Regions from separate parts of the Homo sapiens genome. Here regions 1, 3, 4, 5 and 6 are each linked to region 2. Evidence: promoter capture Hi-C in 16 types of primary human blood cells and fetal thymus (Javierre and others, 2016). All regions are on one chromosome and are shown on one strand. The core of a region is centred on a gene start or on the middle of the fragment in contact, and the rest is flanking DNA. Distances in the headings are between cores, read along the strand shown.

Evidence for each region. Contacts are between HindIII fragments. The CHiCAGO score rates a contact against its expected background, and 5 or more counts as called.
Region 1: the fragment with the promoter of RAB3IP here is called in contact with the fragment with the promoter of LLPH in region 2 in 1 of 17 cell types (total CD4 T cells); the score reaches 8.6 in total CD4 T cells.
Region 3: the fragment with the promoter of MON2 here is called in contact with the fragment with the promoter of LLPH in region 2 in 5 of 17 cell types (fetal thymus, naive CD8 T cells, total B cells and 2 more); the score reaches 8.0 in fetal thymus.
Region 4: a contact is called between the fragment with the promoter of MIRLET7IHG here and the fragment with the promoter of LLPH in region 2, in 6 of 17 cell types (naive CD8 T cells, naive CD4 T cells, non-activated CD4 T cells and 3 more). The highest score is 12.2, in naive CD8 T cells.
Region 5: a fragment that was not itself captured here is called in contact with the fragment with the promoter of LLPH in region 2 in 1 of 17 cell types (naive CD8 T cells); the score reaches 10.2 in naive CD8 T cells.
Region 6: a contact is called between a fragment that was not itself captured here and the fragment with the promoter of LLPH in region 2, in 2 of 17 cell types (activated CD4 T cells and non-activated CD4 T cells). The highest score is 7.3, in activated CD4 T cells.

The regions. Positions count from the first base shown.
Region 1 is chr12:69,737,000-69,740,530 of GRCh38, reverse strand. It overlaps RAB3IP (RAB3A interacting protein), which reads right to left and starts at 1,671. Exons shown (of 11, transcript NM_022456.5): 1 at 1,500-1,671. It overlaps LOC101928002 (a long non-coding RNA gene), which reads left to right and starts at 1,981. Exons shown (of 4, transcript NR_110072.2): 1 at 1,981-2,253. RefSeq lists a silencer at 1,094-1,923. The HindIII fragment of the contact is 14,222 bases long and covers 1-3,531 here.
Region 2 is chr12:66,129,373-66,132,687 of GRCh38, reverse strand. It overlaps LLPH (LLP homolog, long-term synaptic facilitation factor), which reads left to right and starts at 1,938. Exons shown (of 3, transcript NM_032338.4): 1 at 1,938-1,983. It overlaps LLPH-DT (LLPH divergent transcript), which reads right to left and starts at 1,937. Exons shown (of 2, transcript NR_125724.1): 1 at 1,713-1,937. RefSeq lists enhancers at 1,915-2,024, 2,065-2,214. The HindIII fragment of the contact is 2,232 bases long and covers 1,363-3,315 here.
Region 3 is chr12:62,464,687-62,468,207 of GRCh38, reverse strand. MON2 (MON2 regulator of endosome-to-Golgi trafficking) reads right to left here and starts at 1,382. Exons shown (of 35, transcript NM_015026.3): 1 at 890-1,382. The coding sequence starts at 1,000. RefSeq lists enhancers at 726-1,225, 1,221-1,330 and a silencer at 1,361-1,680. The HindIII fragment of the contact is 1,301 bases long and covers 1,331-2,631 here.
Region 4 is chr12:62,601,009-62,604,438 of GRCh38, reverse strand. It overlaps MIRLET7IHG (MIRLET7I host gene), which reads right to left and starts at 1,696. Exons shown (of 2, transcript NR_186001.1): 1 at 1,604-1,696. It overlaps LINC01465 (long intergenic non-protein coding RNA 1465), which reads left to right and starts at 1,005. Exons shown (of 1, transcript NR_121682.1): 1 at 1,005-2,688. It overlaps MIRLET7I (microRNA let-7i), which reads right to left and starts at 753; the gene lies at 670-753. RefSeq lists enhancers at 313-834, 835-1,356, 1,463-1,652, 1,733-1,842, 1,357-1,878 and 1 more and silencers at 683-982, 1,073-1,382. The HindIII fragment of the contact is 3,704 bases long and covers 1-2,065 here.
Region 5 is chr12:69,330,895-69,334,762 of GRCh38, reverse strand. No RefSeq gene overlaps it. Among named protein-coding and RNA genes, the nearest start is that of LYZ, 16 kb to the left of the region's middle. RefSeq lists enhancers at 1,879-2,593, 3,434-3,593. The HindIII fragment of the contact is 1,134 bases long and covers 1,272-2,405 here.
Region 6 is chr12:69,580,400-69,584,153 of GRCh38, reverse strand. No RefSeq gene overlaps it. Among named protein-coding and RNA genes, the nearest start is that of MIR3913-2, 2.4 kb to the left of the region's middle. The HindIII fragment of the contact is 3,759 bases long and covers 236-3,754 here.

The DNA.
Region 1 (3,531 bases), core at 422-2,921, 3.6 Mb before region 2:
ACACTTTGGTTCACAAAGGTATACATTAATATGTAACATTACTGTAATGGAAAAAAATGCAATGGCTTTTCATTTAATAGTTAAAAAATGGACTACTTAATTGTATAACTGTTTATTTCTATAAATTCCACAAGGGCTTTAGGATTAGATCACATAAGCCGCATCTGGAATACACTGTCTGTCCAAACATGAAAAGTCCTATCAAAATGCACAGTACTAGTAAATAAATAACAAATGATAACAGAACAAGGCCCCATAAAACTGGTGAAATATTTAACAGTATCAAATATTTACTACGATTGGTCTACAACCCTATTCTGCCTCTTTTCTCCTTGATTTGTCATTCAGCACTGGAAGAAAAAAAAACCTTCATGAACAACAAAATGAGAAAAAGGATAATGAACAAGAACTGGGTCTTTCAACTGATTTACAATGGAACAGTTTTGTTGTAATCCTCTTATGGGCCCCTCCTCCAATTATGCAATCATTCCACTGCAAGAGATTACAAGGCTTTTAACCCGACACTGAACGGAAGGAGTTGGGGTGAAACAGGAGAGTGTATAACAGGTAGCCTCCGAACAGGCAACATTTCCATGAAACTAAATTGCCTCTCAGTAATCAGTACTAACTAACTCAGCGCTCGTGTCTTTCAAGACCTTACCCTTTCATCTTTTTTAATCCCATAACAACCGGCAACTCTTCACATGCTGCGACTTCCACCCAGCATCATCACTTCTGGAGCCAGTAAGCTCGCGCTTCCTGGGCGGTCGGGGCGAGTTGTCAACGCTGGGAGGGCAGAGCCATGCAATCCCACCCGTGCAGTTCGTCTCAACTCCCCCGAACACAAGTCTGGCGGCACGGAGCTGCCTACTTGGGCGCGACTCCGGGCGCCTGCCCGGAATTTCCCACCAGGTTTCACCGAAACCTCCCGAGGGTGACCTCTACGCCTCAGCACGGTGCCTCGCGCGTAGTTTCCTAAGACTGGGACACGAAACCACCCCAGGTCCACAGCCCTGCCGCGCGGCGTCCGGTGTTGTGAGCTGCTTCCGACTTGTTCGGGAACTCTCTCTTCATCCTCTTCGCGACCGCGGCCCTCCGCTCCCGGCCGCGCCCGCCCGCCGCCAGGTAACCCGCTGGACTCGGGCTCCCTGCCCCGGGCGCGCGGGACCGCGCAGTTAATGTGTAACGCGCCCGTGCCCGGGGGAGGAGCCGCCGCCCGACGCCCACCAGCAGCCCAGGGGGCGGCCGGCTGACCCGGGTCGCCAAAGTCCCCCCCACACGCCGCCCCCAAGGGCCCGGAGCCCAAGTGCCCAGGCGGAGAGCGAGCTCACCGGGCCTGGGCATCCCCCCGAACCCCCGCGTGCCGCGCCCTGCACGGCGCCAGCACCTGCACCTGCCGCGGCCGCCCCTCCTGGCCGACTCGCCAGAGGCGGGCGCGCGGGCGCCGAGGGGGGCGGTGCTCTACGCTCCGGGCCTCTCCCTCCCGCGGCCGCACTCACCTGAAGAACCCACCGCGGCCGCTGCCGGCGCTCAGGGGCGCTCACAGAGCCGCAGAGAGCGCGTCCCGAAGCAGCGAGAAACGGAGGAGGACGGCGAGCCCTTTCCGCTACACTCCACGGCGGCGGGCTCACTACGCCGGCAGCCGCCGAGGGAACGCGGGACTGCGCCTGCGCCGGAAGCGGGGCCGGGGGCCGGGAGCCGGGAGCGGCCGGTCCTCACGGAGGGAGGGCGGGGTAGGGGGGTGTGGCCGGCAGGGGCGGGGCGAGCCCGGCATGGGGCCTGGGGGCGGACGCGCTTCCGCGCCCCCTGGCGCCAGGCGGGGCTCGTCGCAGGTGTCACGGCCCTGGCCCGAGGTTCCTCCGCGGGCGGTTTCCCTGGGAACCAGCGCGAGCCGGAGCTGCGCTCTGTTTCGTCGGGCCCGCGCTCTGTTTCGTCGGGCCCGCGCTCTGTTTCGCCGGGCCCGAGAGGCGGCCTCAGGTTAACTTCAAGCATGTTGGGCTCTCCAGGAGGGAGAAGAGGCACCTTTGCCGTGGGTTGAGGACTCCTAGAACCAACCTGAGACTCCGCGGCCATATACACCTTACGACGTGTGTGTGTGTGGCGGGAGATGGGAGGGGAGGAATCCTGTAGAACCCAGATCCCATCATTCCAGCAACTGCCAGAGCGTTCGAGAATGTCATGTCTGTACCTGTCTTCTCTCATCTTTTGTGCCAACTGTTTTATCAAACTTCTACCCCACTTTAGGTCTTCCAGGTAGGAAAAATACAGAAAGAGCCAAGATCCCAAAAATCAAAAAAAAATAATAATAATAGAGGTAGTCATAGTATGTGTCTCTATGTTTAGCAAAAGAGAAACGTGCATTTGTGTGATACACTTATTGAATAGGACCATCATTCTGGGTATTAATCTCATCTATTAGAGGCAGTAAAGAAAAGTAGACTATATGTATGGTTGTTGGAGTCAGAATTACTGGGCTTGAGCCTGCCACCTGCTAGCTGAGTGACCTTAGGCAAATGAATCTCTCTAGCCCCAATTTTCTCATCAGTGAATGAGTATACAGAACCTGCCTCACTGAGTCATTAAGAGTTTAAATGGCTTAATTCATGTAAACACTTTGCGTACTTCATGACACAGAGTGCCTAATAAATATTAGCTATTGTTATTATACCATTATAACTATTATCATGCATCTGTAATCCAGAAACCTAGAAAGCCAGTGTTTCTTATTTTATACCCCATCGCCAATATATCACCAAGTCTTATTCATCCTAATTTCTAAATAATTCTTAAATCTATCTTATCTGATATTCATTGCCACTAGAAATGACCTTTCTCATTAATGGATTCCTATTCTCCCTTACACCTCATAGCTGGTCATTTATTCATCAGACATTTTATTGCACTCCATCTGTGTGCCTCCTGTTAGACATAGGGACAGAGAAACCATTACAAAGTCCCCACCATCCACGGACTCAAACATATATAGGGAGACAAGTATGTCAATAGTAGCTACGTGAAATGAATAAATTAAATATACAGCAAACCACTTAGGCTCCCCAGTCTTGCCGTACTCACATACAACCCTGTATTTCCATATGCTGTTTATTTTTATGTCTTGATCTCCTACCTTTTCCTTGCCTTGCTAATTATTTGTTATTCATTATTTAGCCTAGACATCAATTCCACTGTGAACCCTTCCCTATTGTTGGCCACTCAGCCCTATCCCAGCCACTCCAGTATGGGCTAAGTGCCCCTACCAGGGCTTCCATAACACCGTATCTCTTTGTAACACTTATCACATAGAGTTATAATTGTATCTGTATTTCTCCATTTTCCTGGACTGCGAGCTTCTTGAGAACAGGCACAAGGTCTGACATGCAGTAGGACTGACTCAGTAAATGCAGAATGAGTGAATGGCATGCATGCAGAGTGCAGTCTTGGTATGTGAATGTTTAGAGGACAAGTCCTATGATATATTCTACATAAGACCTAAGACATCATGATCTATAGGAAATAGTAAGCAGTAACCAT
Region 2 (3,315 bases), core at 689-3,188:
CTTACTGATTGTGCAGATCAGGGATTCCATGGGAGAGGCCTGACTGCAGGGGCCCCACTGACTGTTCTGCATCATGTAGCATGCCTTTTGGATGAGAAAATCAGTCTGCTTCCTGTAAGGTATTCAGGGCCACCCACTGTGCCTCTAGTTCTATATATAGGCTCCTTCCAGCTCTGTGATGAGCCACTGCAATGTTTAGTTGGACCCTTAAGCCTTGTTTGTCCATTAGGAGATAAAGTTTCCCAAAAACAGTAGTTTAGTTTCCTTCATCTTTGCAAATTCAGCATAGTGCCTATAATAGAGTGCATATTCAAAGGCATGAATGAAGGAATGAATTAGACTTTTAAATATACTAAGGCCACTTTTCTAGAACTGCTTTTATATAACTGGTGAGGGGACATAAGTAAAAAGGAGTAAAAGGGTGTTTTACTCAGCTGTTTAAAGCACTTGTAATGCTAAATCATGGCATGGTATTTTAACAACATGACATTTTCATAATAGGTAAATTATTTTTTCTGGTGCCAAGTGCCTATTCAAAAGTCTTGTCCTGGTATGTTAAACAAGATACAGTAAATATGGACTATCAGAATATAAGTTTTCTCTAAAATGCAATGTGCACTTATATTTTTGGGTGAGGTAGCTAACTTCTCATTTGAAAGATGAGGTACAGTATATGGTTAACTTGTAAAACAGAAATTCACTTGCTTTATAAGAACGAAATCTCATTTAAATAAACCAGGTTTCTTAGGCATGCTTCCTTTTTTTATATCAAATGTTCTAGGTTTTTTTCAGCCTCTTTAACCTTGCTATATTCTGAATTCAGTAATTTCCATACTATGCATGGTTTCATAAAGGACACAAATTTAAAGAAAAAAGGTACCCATAGATTGCCTCAGAACCCCTTTTTCTGGCAACCAGCAGGAGTTTACCAGGCCATCATTAAAGACATGTTTTTTGGGTATATGTCGTAAATCTCTAGAAACATTGCTTACAAATAGTACTGTGTAGCTATACTTTTGAAACTATAATGTAAAAAGGGTACCATTTGTTGAACTCTTACAGCATCAATTAGGTTGTATTATGTTCACTTTAGGGACAAGGAAATTCAGGCCCTTATGACATTAATTACTCACCCATATCGTTCACAAGTGTTGGAAGCAAGAGTACAACACAGACCTATATGGTTCCAAAGCCTATGCCAGTAGAAATAGTTGTACAGTAAGTGTTATTCGTGAGCTAAGACAATCGTCCTAGGCTTAGCATTGTGTCTGATACGTAAGTGATCAGACAGGTAAACATTGATAGAACTGAAATCCTTTGATCATTTTACCCTTTAAATTCTTCTCTGGGGTAGGAAAAGCTTGTTTTCTGTTTTTGGTAACCGCTTTGAGTATAACTGACATGCAATAAGTTGCACATATTTAAAGTGTGCAGTTTGATACGGTTTTACATATGTGTACATCTGTGAGGCCATCACCCGAGATGAGAAAATGCACAGGCTGCAAATAAAAATGATCTCAATACGGCCTCTGGAAGAACACCTGATCTAGGCTGACTTGATCTAAGGAAATACATGAGTATCATGTAAACGCTGAGGTCAGATCTAAAGGTCGGCTCGGAGCTCCCTATCTGACAAGTAGGGTCCCCTGGCCAGGTTCACTCCATAGGTTAGTCTCGGGGCTACCCTGCCCACGTCCGGAAAGCGGACCTACCTGGGGCCTAACCTTGACCGGACACCCGTCAGCATTCTCCAAATCCGACTTCTACACCTGTATGGGACGGACCAAGTTTCTAGGTCCGCGATCACACCAATGGCGGAAGCTCGTCAGCGCCCGGGTTCCAAAATCCCGCCTCTCAAGGCTTCTTGAGACATTTTGTCTCCCGGCGTGCAATGCGTCCGCCCCGGGTGGCCTCCGCCCGGAAGACGGAAGTGCAAAGACTTCCGGTCGGCGTGAGCGTGAGGTGTGGGTGTTCGTTTCTCAGGTGAGTTCGGTTCCTCACCGGTCCAGTGACACATGGGACTTGGGGCTTGATTCCGCCACCCTTGGAGAATTTCGTTTCTTGACACTCGCTGGGCTATACTTGAGCTCCAGTCCGGAGATGCAGGCCTTGTTGAGGGCGAGGGTTCCCCTTGCTCTTTTTGGTGGGGGCCCTCCGGCTTCCGAGTGCACTGGATAAAGTGGAGCCCACCCCTGTCGTTCACTCCCGCTGAAGTTAACTTCGGCCCTCAAGGTTGTTTGCCGCCCGCTTTCCTAGCCCCTCGCAAGGGTTGAGTTATGTAGACAAGGGAGCGGAATGACTGTGATTGCCGGCGTTCAAAAAATGTTAGTGGTTCGTTCAACAAGTATGCAAAAAGTGTGCGATTCAGCAGTGAACAAGACCTTTCCCTCTACCTTCGTGGAGTCTACAGTCTGGGGAGAGGGTCGGGGGGCGTGACAGAAAACAATGGTTTCAGGTTGTAACACTTAATAAGCAGGGAAGGGAGCTTACGGAGGTCAGAGGAGTCCTTTCTGAGGTAGCGAATGAAGGAGCAAGCCTTGAGAAGAGCAGTTGCCAGGCATAGGGACAGCAAATATGAAGGCACTGACGTAGAGATAGTTTGGACTCTTTACAGACGTAGTTGGTGCCTGCGGGGATGGGGATGGAGAATGAAATGAAATAGAGTTGAAGGAGGCAGGGGACAGATCACAAATGACCTTGTAGATCTTGAATATATATGAGGGAGGAGGTCTTTAAAGAACTCGAAGAAAGGCAGTGAATGCTTTTTTAAAAGATCACACTGAGCACCTTGTGGAGGATTTAGGGCGGAACTGAGTGGAAAGAAAACAAGAGTAGGAATAGATAAGTTTACAGTCGTTAAGTTGGCTTGAGAGGATGGATAATGAAGATGAGGTGAAGTGTTTATAAAAATCATTTGTAATTTGTAAGCTGTTGCATAAATGTAAGGTGATGACGCTGTTGCATTCTGGGGAAATTAAATTTCTGTATTTTGTAAAGAAATTCAGCCGGGCGCGGTGGCTCAAGCCTGTAATCCCAGCACTTTGGGAGGCCGAGGCGGGCGGATCACAATGTCAGGAGATCGAGACTATCCTGGCTAACACGGTGAAAACCCGTCTCTACTAAAAATACAAAAAATTAGCCAGGCGTGGTGGCGGGCGCCTGTAGTCCCAGCTGCTCGGGAGGCTGAGGCAGGAGAATGGCGTGAACCTGAGAGGTGGAGGTTGCAGTGAGCTGAGATCGCGCCACTGCACTCCAGCCTGGGACACAGAACAAGACTCTGTCTCAAAAAAAAAAAAAGAAAAAAGACATGCAAGG
Region 3 (3,521 bases), core at 133-2,632, 3.7 Mb after region 2:
AAAATTAGCCGGGCCTGTTTTTGGTGGGTTTTTTTGTTTGTTTTTTTTTTTTAGAGAATTAAAATGGCATTTTAAGAGAAAAAGCAAATAGTAACCAAATGTTAAATATTTCACCTCAAGAACTATTTGGAGAATTAAATTTCCATGTATTATTTACTGGGATCTCTTTAATAATACCCTTCTGCTCTGACATCTTTCCCATACATAATATAAAACCATCCTTTAACCCTATTTTACAGCTGGAAAAAAAAACCCGAAGCTCAAAGAGGTTAAGATTTATTGCTGGAACTAAATTCAGGTGTATTCGCTCTGACTGCAAGCCCAACTTCCCACTACAGTACTGCTCATAACAAGGTTTAACATGATTATGTGGATCTTCAATATTCTTCATAAATTAGGTGGCTCTGGATAGTTTATTAACACGTCAAAGGATTGATACAGAGTTAAGCTGAATGATATATACCAGAAGGAAAATTGTTTCCAATTCAGTGATATGCCATAAACGTGAGGAGTACAGGTTTCAACAAGATGGGTGGATACTCGTTTCGGGGAGCAACAAACAAGTTTTTCAATTTTGGTTTGGCCAGTTTCAAGTAAGAAAAAGGCCAGAATAGGCTAGTGCACAGTACACCTAGCTGGATTAACTGAATAGGCTCACTTCATGAACTTCACTCCTAAACTGGGAGGACAGGAGAGGGGAGAAAATCAAAGTGCCTCAGCCCTCTCCAGTGGAAACTATAAAAAGCCCTTGTGGAACAACCCACCGACTCACAAATCTGGAAAGGTGAGGCCTGAATGAAAATTAGGACTGGAAACTGGGGTGAAGCACTGAGTCTAACAGGACCAGGCATGCTCACAGTGCCTTCTCCTGACGTCACCTGAAGCTTACCTCTTTGACAGGTGGGAATTTCTTCTTGCACTCCAGTGACAAGGCGCGCAAGTCGCTCTGCATATTCTCCAGCAGCTTCTTCACCGCCTCGGGGCTGCTGGTGCCGGACATGATCCTCCAAGGTCCCAGCCAATTTCCGAGAGGTACAAACAAGCTCTGGCACGGTCAGCTCCTTAGGGCCACAGGCAGCTCCCTCCCGGTGTCTCTGGTCCTTCAGCAGCCCGCTTCTTGGGCCCTGGGCTGCGAACCCGGAGCCTGCTCGAGCGTCCCCCAGCAGCTTCCCCGCAACACCTCTGGCTTTTCTCGGAGGCGCCCCCCGCAGTCGCACCGTCCCGCTAGGCTCCGCCGACTCTGGCCGAGAAACCCACAAGGCGGGCAGGTCCCTCCGCTGCCGCGGGGCCCAGCCACACCGGGTGTCACCAGCCAACCTGGCAAGAAGCTTCAGCGCCAGCTCCCCAGGCCCCTAAGACTCGCCGACGCCATTAGCCGAGTCGCCCACAATTCCGAGCGCTGCCGGGACACGTCAGCCGCACTTCCGGGTACCGTGGCCTCCGCCACCGCCGCGGCCAACCCCGGCGGCAGGCCGTCGGCGGGGCGGGGCTGGGGCTTGGCCATGCTCGGGGCAGGCGGGATTCCGGGTGGGCAGCGATTCCCACAGCCCCACCCCCGGAATCAAGTAGGCTAGACAGGGTTTAAGGCGTCAAGATTCGCTTCGTTTTCATTAACAAGTGCCTGAACAGAGCCCCCGAGTACTCCTTGGCATATCTCTTTGCGTATGTTTGTGTTAAATTGTATTTCGGTGTAAATAATTTGTTTCCCTGTAGATTAATCTTAACGTGTCTCCTCCCGCTTCATTTCGAATCTCTGGACTAGTGGCCCCAAATCAGTGGCTACCTCCTGTTAATATACATTTTTTTTCTTTAAACGCAACTGGTGCACTTACTGTGGGGTAGCCTCTTATTTTCCTAATCTCTAAAATGAGACTACCCTCTGCTCCACGCATTCCGCTGGCCTCCCATCTCACTCAAAGTAAAAGCCAAAATTCCTCCAATCACCTACCAGGCGCTACGAGATCTGTCCCGGCCCCTTTACTGGCAGATGCTCCCAGCTAAAAGGAGAGTTTCGCGAGTTGGGCTGCCGGTTCTTCCTCTTTTTAAATCTTATTTTGTTTCCTGTGTATCTCCAGCACCTAGAACAGTGTCTGGCATATAGCAGGTAATCAGTACATACTTGTTGAATGAATACCCTTCTATTATAAAATCAGAGTTTCGAGGCTCAAATAAGGCACAGATACATAAAAGCCTTCATCAGGTCTGAAGTGCCAAATAAATATGAGGCAAAAGCCAAACAGAAAAATCTTCATCTGTATTTCCCCAAGATCCAGGTTGGTCTACTTTTTCCCCAAGACATTTTGCAGCTGCTGGTCAGAAAGCAGAAAATGAGGGAGGAAAAACCAGAAACAGTAGAGATGAAGAAACCAACACCTTCAGACAGCTGAGCTTATGACATGATGGAAGACAGTGAGCCATGAGATTGTCAGTGGATAGCGCTGTTTGGCTGTAACAGAGCTACTTTGTAAGCTAAATAATTTTATTTTATTTTTCCTTCTGATAAGAAGCAAAGCAAGGATGGATAAAGGGGACAGATGAGGTAATAGTAGAGAGCTCCTAGGGCAGTAATTTTGATCATTTGTGCCTATTACACAACTTCTGGGAAACTTGACACCTCCTATGGTATAAGCTTTATGTATGAAAACTGGTGAATTTAGCAAAAAAGTTCAAATGGAATATATGGCAGACATTATTCTTGAGGTCTCAGGGAGCTTGTAAAAACGAGGCGCTTTTTTTGGGTGGGGGGTGGAGACGGAGTCTCACTCTGTCACTCAGGCTGGAGTGCAGTGGCGCGATCTCCACTCACTGCAACCTCCACCTCCCAGGGTCAAGCAATTCTCCTGTCTCAGCCTCCCGAGTAGCTGGGACTACAGGCGTAGGCTGCCACGCCCGGCTAATTTTTTGTATTTTAGTAGAGATGGGGTTTCACTGTGTTGCCCAGGCTGGTCTCCAACTACTGAGCTCAGGCAATCCACCTGCCTTGGCCTCCCAAAGTGCTAGGATTACAAAGGCGTGAGCCACACCGCAGGCCTTTTTGTTTGTTTGTTTGTTGTTCTTTTTAGTAGAGATGGGGTTTCAGCATGTTGGCCAGGCTGATCTGGAACTCCAGAGTACAAGTGATCCACCCACCTCGACCTCCCGAAGTGCTGGGATTACAGGCATGAGCCACCACACCTGGCCAAAAATGATGCTTTAGTAATTGGGCTAGTGATATAGGATCAAATTCTCTGACTTTCACTATGTAGCCAACTTTTCTTTTGGATTTTTTACTATTGGTAACTTTGGCATGATTAACTCAAAATCGTTAGAATCTTTTACATCTCTGTTCAGAGTTGAGGACATGCAATTGGAATTCATTGATTGAAAACAATACTTCTAATGATTTGAAAAGCCAAATTTTAAAAGTAAGGTGTAGCACCTGGGTGCGGTGGCTCACACCCATAATCCCAACAATTTGGGAGGCCGAGGCGGGTGGCTCACCTGAGGTCAGGCGTTGGAGACCAACCTGACCAACAAGGCGG
Region 4 (3,430 bases), core at 447-2,946, 3.5 Mb after region 2:
ACTAAAAAGAAAAAACAAAAAACAAAACCATTCACAGCACACTGTACATAGAATTTATTTGTTTGCCTCATACATTAAAAAATCGGAATAGTGCAATTACCTACAAATAATTTCAATCTTCTCATTCGCGAGTTGCAAAGTTTAAAGAGAAACTTTAAATTGCTTTGGGTTTACGTTTTTAAAGACACACTCAGATTTACTAAGAGAGCATATCAGAAACCAGATCTAAAATGTTAAGGCATAAACTTTAATTATCAGGTCTACTTCTTCTGCCCCTCTAATGCCAGTTCTGCAGATCGCTCACACCACTCCAACCTACAGCTAAAGAATGAAGTAAAACAGGTACACACTAAATTTGGCATTTAACTGCTGAAAGAAGTGTTAGAATTTTTTAGGGTGAAAAAGTTATCTGTATCAATTATCTTACACAATTCCACTCCTTCCTTCAAGAAAAGGAATCCAATGGCTTAGCTCTTTCCCAACCTTTAAAATGCATCGCGGTCCACCCCACTCCCCTCAATTCCTTCTAGGAAAATGTGAAACTAACGGTTTCCGTGGTGGCCGCGCCGGCCGGGCGCCGAGGCTTCGCGGGCTGTCCCCAGGCAGCGCCCCGGAAAACAAAGGGGATTCCCAGCCATTGTCCTCCGCGGCGCTGAGCATCACCAGCACTAGCAAGGCAGTAGCTTGCGCAGTTATCTCCACAGCGGGCAATGTCACAACCCGACCAACAGCACAAACTACTACCTCAGCCAGGGCCATGGTGTCGGGGAGGCACGGGACCACGCGGAGGGCAGCAAAGCGGCTCCGGCGCTCCTCCGTCCTTCCTCGCCGCCGACGTCGGCCCGCCGCCCCTTCTTTTCCTTTGCCTTCCCCCCGCGCCGCGCCCGGAGACCCCGCCCAGCACCCAGCGGCTCGGCTACTCCCGGCGCGCCCCGAGAGCTACGGGGATGAGAGGCGGCGCCGGCGCCCGGGTGATACAGCCGGCGTTCTGTACGTCAGCCACCGCTCTGAAGAGAGAAAAGCGGCGGTGTCCTGCGGAGAGAGCCGCTCCCTCCACTGCCCGAGGGGAGCGCGTCGCCTCAGCCGCTCGAAAGCAGGAAATGGGCGGCAAAAGCGCAGTCAGACACCAACTGGTTCTGGACTGCCCCCGAGAGGCAGCGAGCAGCGCTCCCGCGCTTCGCCCGCTAGGAGCTGCCGCCACGTCCCGAGCTGCGCCGCTCGCGCCCCTCCCTGCTCCGAGTCCCCGGTGGGGGCTGGGCTGCGGCCGAGTCCGGTACCCGGGCCCCCACCCGCGCCGCGCTGTCGAACCCGCCGCCGGCCCGCTCTCGGCGCCGATAATCGCCGGCGGGCATCCCGCAGAGGCTGCCGCCGGCTCCGCCAAACAGCAGCCAAGGCATAGCCGGGAAGTCCCCAGGCCACCCGTTCCCCAGCACCCTTCGGGGAATTCCCGTTCAGCTCTACAGGAGGCGAAAACGGAACAAACGAAAACCCCTTAACAGTGAAACCGGGCCCGGCGATGGCCCGGGTGGCGACTGCGACGACTCGACGCGTGCGGACACAAGACCCGTCTCGCGCTCCGCTGCTCCTGTGCGTCCGGACGAACCTTAGAGATCACTTAAGGAGGCTCGCGCGCTACTCCTCACCACGTGACCGCCCCGCCAGGCCGCCCCCCGCGCCGCCATCTTACATCCGGGACAGAGGCGGCGTCCCCTTTCCCTGCCTTGGCAGGCGTCAGCGTGCTACCAGAAATCAGCCCTGAAAGAGGGGACCCCGATTCCACGTCACCAGAGTGCTGAGGCAGCGGGCGATGCCCTCCATCGGCTCAGCGGGGGGGAGTGGAGTCCCAAACTTTTTTCGGCCTTTGCCCGCAAAGAAGATGGCGGCGCATATCGCCGCCTAAGCGGACACGTTGTACCCTGGCCGTGGTTTGAAGTTTCCGGCACCTCCTTTCCCAACCAGCAAGGACACAACCATACGAGCCCCACCCACGCGGGGTGGCTGCCGTGCTACATTCCGCAGAAAACAGGCGGGAAAGCTGCGGCACAGCCCGCTTTAAACGCAAGCTTTTGGGACTTCTGGTTTTGGCTTTTTCTTTTTAAGCCAAGTTAGGGAGAAGGCTGACTGCCATGGAGCCACTTCTGCTTTTGGCCCAGACAACTTACGGGATTTTTTTTTTCCTCCCATTTAGAGATTTTTTGTAGGAAGTTAACAAATTATTTTAAAGAAGTAGTTAGGGCTTGTCAGATAAAATACAGGACGCCCAGTTAAATTGGAATTTCAGATAACCAGTGTTTTGGCATATGTGTGTTACATATATTTTTAAAATTGTTTATCTGATATTCCAATTTAACTGCACATTCTCAATTTTTAATGACTGTATCTGGCAACCCTATCAGCCTTTACCCCTGAAAATCCAGACTGCTTATGACAAAAGTAAGGAATGGAGGGAAATGAAAAGCATGTTTACCTACAACTTAGAATTGTCTTTGCCCAGACTTTGATCCTTCATGGAGGCCAGAGGGCCGTGGTCTAGAACAAAATTTGGCAGCAACTCATAAAGATATCCTTGTATAATTCCCTTTCTGGCAAAGTAAGATTTTTTTTTTCTTAAGCTATCACGATGTAATTTTGGACAACAGATCCTCTTGGCCAAGAGTTTAATTGCAAATTAAAAATTAAATAACTGGCTTTTTGTTTCTATTCTACATGGTATAGGCGATGGGACCCAAACAATTTCTTAAAGTAGAAGTTTTCAAGTTAAAAATCAGCCTGCCTGACATATTTCATAAGAACATTTTTAGGTGCATATTCAGAAACTATTTCCAATTAAGAATATTTGTGTAAACATAATACATTTGCAGTTAAATGCTTTACCTGACAAAGCATAAACTCACCTATCAATCACTAAGCATAAACTCAAAGCAAAAACTCAATCACACCATAAACTCATCTATCAATCACTTACCAGAAAGTCTGTAGAAACTTCACACCATCCTTCCTTGATAAGCAAAGATTGGACTGCCATGGGAATCAACCCTCACTGCTCATTGACTGCGCAGTGGATCAGATTATTCTGTACCAAAGCAAATGTCCTTTGCCATAATGGCACAGATTTTTAAATGGCCACTAAACACCTGTTTGGTCTATGGTATACAGATTTGTTACAGCAGTAGTTTCCAACTAAATTTAGTCATTATACTACTTTATCACTTACATTCCTTTCCATAATGTTTTTAACAGTGCTAACACCAATATACTCATCATCCACATATAATGTACTGTTACCATCAACTTTTTCTCCCCCCTCCCTGCATATCAGGAATCTTAAGTATCCTTTCTGAATATGACCACCGTTAATCAATTCTTTATCATCACCTCATAGCAAGAAAATTGCAACAGCTTTCTAGCTTAGCTTTCCATACTGTATATA
Region 5 (3,868 bases), core at 589-3,088, 3.2 Mb before region 2:
AATGCGTGTTAAGCCACTGACATTTTGAAATTGTGTTATTTCAGCATTCCAGGTAGAGGTAAACATATTTAAAAATAAAAGAAAGGAAGAATAGACAAATCTTCCATGCAGGAGAATTTCAAGTACTTTATGTAGATACTCTGCCCTCAAGGAAGTATTGAGGCTGTGCATAGTGACTTCCTTCCAAAGAATACAGTATGGAAACGAGGGAAAAGAATAATTTCACAGGAGAGAAACCTGACAAATTCTACTTCAGTCAGTAGATCAATGTTAACATCAACAGTGATAAGCCACATTGATAAGTATGCATCCTTGATATGATGTGATGAAAATGGTATTTGCCTCTGTGGTCTTTCTCTCCAAAACATATAACCCCAGTCTCACCATAAGAAAAACATCAGACAAACCTCAAATGAAGATTATTCTACAAAATACCTGATGAGTACTCAAAACTGCCAAGCTCATCAAAACAAGGAAATTCTGAGAAACTGTCACAGCCAAGAGAAGCCAGAAGAGATACAACAACAAAATGTTATATGCCACCCTGGATAGGATCCTGTAACAGAAAAGGGGCATTAGGTAAAAACTAAAAAATCTGAATAGAGTATGAACTTTAGCTAATAATAACATATCAATATTGGTTCATTAATTGTAACAAAGGTACCTTATTGATGTAAGATGTTAGTAATAAGGGAAAGTGGGTGTGGGGAATACAGAAATGAACTGTCTTATCTTCAGGATTTTTTTGTAAATCTCAAACTATGCTGAAATTAAAAGTTTATTTAAAAATAAACACTGCCTCGGCAACATAGTGAGATTCTGTCTCTTAAAAAAAAAATTGGCCAGGCATGATGTTACATGCCTGTAGTCCTAGCTACTCTGGAAGCTGAGGTAGGAGGATCACCTGAGCTCACGAGGTAGCGCCATCATTGTGCCACTGCACTCACTCCAGCCTGGGTTGCAGAAGGAATCTCTGTCTCAAAAAAAAATAAAAATAAAAAATAAAATAAAAAAAGAAAAGAAAGGAAAAAAGGTATAAGAAAGAATATGGTATGCTGTGGAAGTTCCTTTCAAAGTAGAAAGTGGAAGTGAAGAGCTTGGCTGGGTAAATGAAGAATCTTTTATGCTATTAAAAGGAAATTCCATTTTTATTGTATAGGTTAGGTGAAGGATCCCTAGAAGATCTATGGATAGGCTTCAGAGGTGTTGCTAAACCTCCAAAATTATATAAAATTATATTGCATATTTTTCTCAGAAGAAAGTAAAAAGCTTTATTATTTATTCTCAAAAGTATAAGTACCTAAAATAGGTTAATAATCACTGCTGAAGGCAATGTAAAAACTGAAGTCTTCCGAGTAAAAGGAATGACACAATTGTATTTTTTTGTGTGCCAAAAAGGACCATAGATCACTTTTTGCTAGGACAGACTAAAGTGATTTGGTGTGTGTGGGGGTGTGTGCGTGTTTGGAGAAGGAAGGCCAAAATGAAAGGCAAGATGATAATAAAGACAGTGATCTTCAAACTTTTGAACGTGGTACATTTTGCAAGGGGAGAAAACTGTTGGGATTCACTCAGGATGGTGGCAGAAAGAATAAAGGGAAATATTAGGGAAAGTTATAGGAAATAGTCACAAACCTTTTAGAAGGCCGAAAGTTTACATAGCTTGTAATAATTGAACAGGCCAAGGCGGCCAGTTCTTACCTTAGAGCATTAGGTCATAGGGTAAATACAAGGGACAACAGAGGCTTCCCCAGTTAAGTCTGTTTACCCAACTTCAATTAACTAACCTTTGAGCCAGATGGCCTTCTCTGGGGAGGTCTACCAAGGATATTGCCCCCTAATGGTATTTGTTACACGCGTCCCTGTGAAGAGACCACCAAACAGGCTTTGTGTGAGTAACAAGGCTGTTTATTTCACCTGGGTGCAGGTGGGCTAAGTCTGAAGAGAGTCAGCAAAGGGTGGTGGATTATCATTAGTTCTTAAAGGTTTTGGGATAGGCGGTGGAGTTAGGAGCAATGTTTTGTGGGCAGGGGGTGGATCTCACAAAGTACATTCTCAAGGGTGGGGAGAACTACAAAGAACCTTCTTAAGGGTGGGGAGATTACAAAGAACCTTCTTAAGGGTTGGTGAGATTACAAAGTACATTGATCAGTTAGGGTGGGGCAGAAACAAATCACTGTGGTGGAATGTCATCAGTTAAGGCTATTTTCACTTCTTTTGTGGATCTTCAGTTGCTTCAGGCCATCTGGCTTAGCTTGGGCTGAGAGGCCTGATAGTATTTACCTGAGACCGTGGTACCTGAGTTTTAATCATTCCTAGAACTACTCTCTTAACCATGTTAATTATCCACAAGTGTGTTTACTCAAGTTTACTCAAAGTGTGTTTACTCAAGTTTACTCAAAGCTTCTGTTGTTAATTGTATACTAAATAAATGCCTGGAGTTCGAGCTGCTCAGGGCCGTCCACAGTGACAAACCTCTCTAGGTGTGCAGGCGGCTGGACACTCAGCTGGACTGGCAAAACAGAATATCTGTGTGTCAGTGTACGTTTTATTCATCTGTCGTTTGGGTCAGGGTCTGAGGGCAGACCCCGCGGCTAATGCCTTCACGTGTGAGGAGCAATACCTCAGCTGGTGGCCTGTGTGAGGAAACCCGTGTGAGGAAAGCCCTGTGAGGAAAGCCGTGTGAGGCCAGTCAGGGGTCTGCAGAAACAGACTCCCCGCAGTTGGAGCCCCTCCTGAGGCAAGCTGCCTAGGAAGAGTGAGGACTGCCCTCATGAGGAAAGCTGCGAAGGAAGCGTGAAGGAAAAGCGACGGACCCCCCGGAAAACAAAGGTGAAGAAAGGAACCGCGCGGTCAAGTCAGTGAGTAATCAGCAAGTCATTGGTGCCCACTCAAAGTTACCAAGTTCTGGGGGAAGTTGGGTCAAGCTGAGTTTTCATCATGGGACCACAGTTATTAGCACAGCAGAAACATTATATGAAAGTATTAAAACAGTTACTTAAGGCTAGCGGAGCCTCAGTTTCACAGGCTCAATTAAGGGACCTAATCATCCATGCTAGACAAACTGTTGCAATGCAAACTCTTGTGATCCCAAGCCCGTGGTTCCCGGAAGAAGGAACGCTAGACGTAGAACTCTGGGAACAAATGGGGAGAAATCTTAACATGTGCAAAGGCAACAGGTCCCAGTAACAGCTTTAACGTTATAGGCTTTAATTAGAGCAGCCTTAGCTCTGTTACACGCAGAAGAGCCTAAAAAGAGCAAGGAGGAGAAAATGTCACCTGCCTTATCACCTCCTCTTCCCTCCACCCTAATATCACCGGGCCGAAATAACAGAGGAAACGGGGGTTTATACCTGAGCCTCCTCCTCCAATAGATAGGAAAAAAGACCTAGGATATGCTACAGCTATCAGTCCCTGTCTTAAGCGGGCAGCATTAGAAGCAGAGCTCTTACTCTGCCCAGTAATGCAGAATCGGCAAGGCAATCAGGTGTATGTTTATAAAAAGATAAGAAAAAAGGCATTAGGAGCCGAAAGCCGTGCAGCCGAGCAAGCAGTAAATAAAAAGAAAGGCTCGGCAGCCCGGAAGTTCACAGAAACAGAGCCAGCACAGGCAAAAGGCAGCGCTTTTACAAGAGTAAAACAGCTACCGCCCAGGGACCCGCCGGCTCAGCTCTCTAGCTCTGCAGGTGACCCAAGGCAAGTGCTCCTTGTTTACAAGCGACATCCCAGATTATAATTCTCTGCTAAAATTTAAGTAAAATGTAAGAATTTGAAAAACCTCTTTTCTGATAATGGCCACTGTTGCTCTCTCTCTCCTACCCCTGACGTAGCTCTCCAAATCCAATTTAGGTAAAACAGTAACCTCTGA
Region 6 (3,754 bases), core at 866-3,365, 3.5 Mb before region 2:
CATTAACAGGAATTTTCAATTTTTTAGTTGTTTCTACCCTTCAGATTTCCTCTAAGTGGGTTGATTTCCACCAGGGGTTGGCAAGCTGTGAGGAGTCAAACCCAGCCTGCCAGTTGTTTTTTGTATGGCCTGAGAGCTAAGAATAGTTTTTACATTTTTAAGTGGTTGAAAGAAATCAAAAATTTCCTGACACATGAAAATCCTGTGAAATTAATATTTCAGTGTCCATAAAGCTTCATTGGAATCCATGGGCATACCCATACATATTTACTCTGTCACAATACGATAGCAGAGTTATGTGGCAGAGTTGAGTAGTCATGACAGGTTGAATGGGCCCACAAAACCTAAAACATGTATTATCTAATTCTTTACAGAAAAAGTTTGCTGACCCTGGTTTACAGTATTCCTCAGGTCCAACATGAAAAGGGGAGTTCAGGCTGGACAAATTGTTATTTTAAATCTCCCAAGAGTTTTCTCTTCTTTGTAGGAAAATTTGGTCTTCTTTCAGGAAATGTACTTTCCTAGGCAGATCCCAAATCGCATTCTGGAATGAGAAGATTCACAATAAAAAACTAAGATGCCTGCACAATATTGAAAAAGGTTGTTTTTATTGTGGGCAAAATTACATACCTGGAGATATTTATTATGTCCTCTGGTAGGCAAGCCTGAGACTGTGTGTGATGGGGAAACCAATGACTGCTCCCTGCTGGGCTTTGAATGTAGCCAGAGGCATTTGGATGGGGAGAAGGAGGCAGGCCCTGCCACCTTGTGGAACTGAGGCTAGAGGCAGCCAGGAAGAGACTCTATGATGGGACCCTTGGAAATGTGTCCTTTCTCCATTGCATCTTTTGACCCTTCCTTCTTTCCTACTTCCCCCTCCTTTGATGACACCTCTACACCTAGAGGCTAAACACTCAGCTTCTAGACCCAGACTATATGAGTTTGAATTTCAACCATTTTACGTACTAGCTTTGTAGTCTTGGGTGGGTTTCACAGGCTCTTTAAATCAGTTCATTGAAGGCCATTCAGAGCGTGATCAATGTGCTGGTTTACCAAAAACTGTCTCTTTTAGCTGTTTATACTTTTTTGTTGTTGTTGTTGTTGTTGAAACAGAGTTTCACTCTGTCGCTCGGGCTGGAGTGCAGTGGTATGATCTCAACTCACTGCAACCTCCGCCTCCCGGGTTCAAGCAATTCTCCTGCCTCAGCCTCCCAAATAGCTGGGACTACAGGCATGCACCACCACAGCTGGCTAATTTTTGTATTTTTAGTAGAGACAGGGTTTAACCATGTTGGCCAGGGTGGTCTCGAACTTCTGACCTCAAGCAATCTGCCCACCTCAGTCTCCCAAAGTGCTGGGATTACAGGCATGAGCCACCACACCTATATATATATTTTTTAATTGAGACAGGGTCTTACTCTGTCACCCAGGCAGGAGTGCAGTGGTGTGATCTCCACTCACTGCAACCTCTGCCTCCTGACTTCAAGCGATCCTCCGACCTGTCTCCCGAGTAGCTGGAAATACAGGCATGCGCCACCACACCAGCTAATTTTTTGTATTTTTGGTGGAGACGGGATTTTGCCATGTTTCTCAGGCTGGTCTTGAACTCCTGAATTCATGCGATCTGCCCACCTTGGCCTCCCAAAGTGCTGGAATTACAGGCAGAAGCCACTGTGCCCATCTATTTATACATTTTATCGTAATTTGTATTAGATAGGTTACAGGGCCTATGGAGATAGTGAGACCTTGGGAATCCATGTTTCTGTGATTAAACACGTTGTGTGACTTTCTCCTGGCTCATCTTCTGTCCTCTACTCTCAAGTCCCTTGGTCTTGGCTTCTCTTAGTTAACCCTTCCTCCTCCCTCAAAGTCTTTGTGACCCTCTCCTCTCTATGACCCTGTGTCCTCCTCTCTCTTCCCCTTGGTATAATTTGGCTTTCAGTGAATTGGCTTTTTGTTAACTGGTCAGCTTCCAGTTATATAATCTCTCTGTGCCTCAATTTCCCTTTGTGTAAAATGGAGATAATTATCACAGATTAAATAGCTTAGAACAGTGCCTGTTTAGCTTAGCTATTGTTATCATTATATCCCAAGTCTTCTAATAGGCTTTATAAATATAGTAGCCGAGGTTGGATATGCTTGGCATGTTATGGAAGTAGGAAAGCACTGTAGCATATCATTATTTGATGGCTAGAGGTGATTTGGGAGCAAGGGTAGATTCATTAACTGGAGTGAAATAACTGGCGAAGTGGCAAACAACCACCAGAACAGAGTTATGGGACTTGTCAACATTCCTCAGGAACAGTTAGAATACCTGGGGAAGGAAACCAAATAAAGGACCAGGAGTCCACAGTCACATTAAGTTGGGTCCACCCAGACACCTACTGTTTGGGTAGTAGGGAGAAGGTTAGAAGACTTGATATTTCTCCTGTTGCAGACCGTGATAGTTTGTACACAGGAATCAGTCTGTGGAGCACACTTAGAGGAGCACTTTAAAAAAAAAAAAAACAGGGTCTCATTATGTTGCCCAGGCTGGACCACAGTGGCAGGATCACAGTTCATTGCAGCCTCAACCTCCCAGGCTTAATCTATCCTCCTGCCTCAGTCTCTTGAGTAGCTGGGACTACAAGCACACACCACCACGCCAGTTGATTTTTGTATTTTTTCATAGAAACAGGTTTTCACCATGTTGCCCAGGCTGGTCTCAAACTTCTGGGCTGAAGTGATCCACCCTCCACAGCCTCCCAAAGTGCTGGGATTACGGGCATGAGCCACCATGCCCAGCCCCCAAATATATCTTAAATCTCAATGAACTGACACCATCAACCATCTCAGTCACCCAAACCAGATAACTGGGGGTCATCCTTGACCCCTCCATTTCTGTCATTCCCCTTATCAATCAGAGGTGTTAATTCTTCCTCCTTTAGGCCCTCTATTACATTGGTGGCCCTGAATAAACTACACTTTTGATGTTCATGCTTTTATATGAGCCACTGTAATTCAACAAAATACAACAGAATTGACATTGTGCCAGTTCTGGGCTTAGGCCTCAAGAAAGCCTAGCAGCATCTACTTTTGTGCTCTTGGGAACCCTAAGCTGCCATGTAAGAAGACCACATGAAGAAAGACCCAAGACTTCATGGAAGAAAACTAAGGAACACAGCTGAGAGCTTTAAGTTCCAGACATAACCTAGTGGAACTGGTCCAGCCAGCCCTCAGCTGCTTGAATCATACTAGCATAGGCACAAAGCATATGAGGAAGCCAGGCCTCCAGACATCATGTGAGATGAGCCATCTCTGCTGTGCCCTGCCCATCTCGATCTATAGCAACTTGAGACATTAAATGATTGCTGCTTTAAGCCACTAACTTTTAGGGTGGTTTGTTGCACAGCAGTAAACAATCTAAACAGTCCTTTAACAATGCCTTTGAATACGGATTTATCAGATCTGGCTCCATTTCTGAAAAAGCCTCTCAACCAGTCTCCCTGCTTTATTAAAATACCGTAGGGCCAGCTACTTGGGAGGCAGAGCCAGGAGAATGGCATGAACCTGGGAGGGGGAGCTTGCAGTGAGCCGAGATGGCGCCACTGCACTCCATCCAGCCTGGGCAACAGGGAGAGACTCCGTCTCAAAAAAAAAAAAAAAAAAAAAAAAAAAAATACTGCGCCCTTCACGTATCCATGTTGTCAGAGAAATCTTTCTAAACTATTATTTTTCTGGTGTTTAAAATCCTTCAAGTTCTCTCACCTAATTT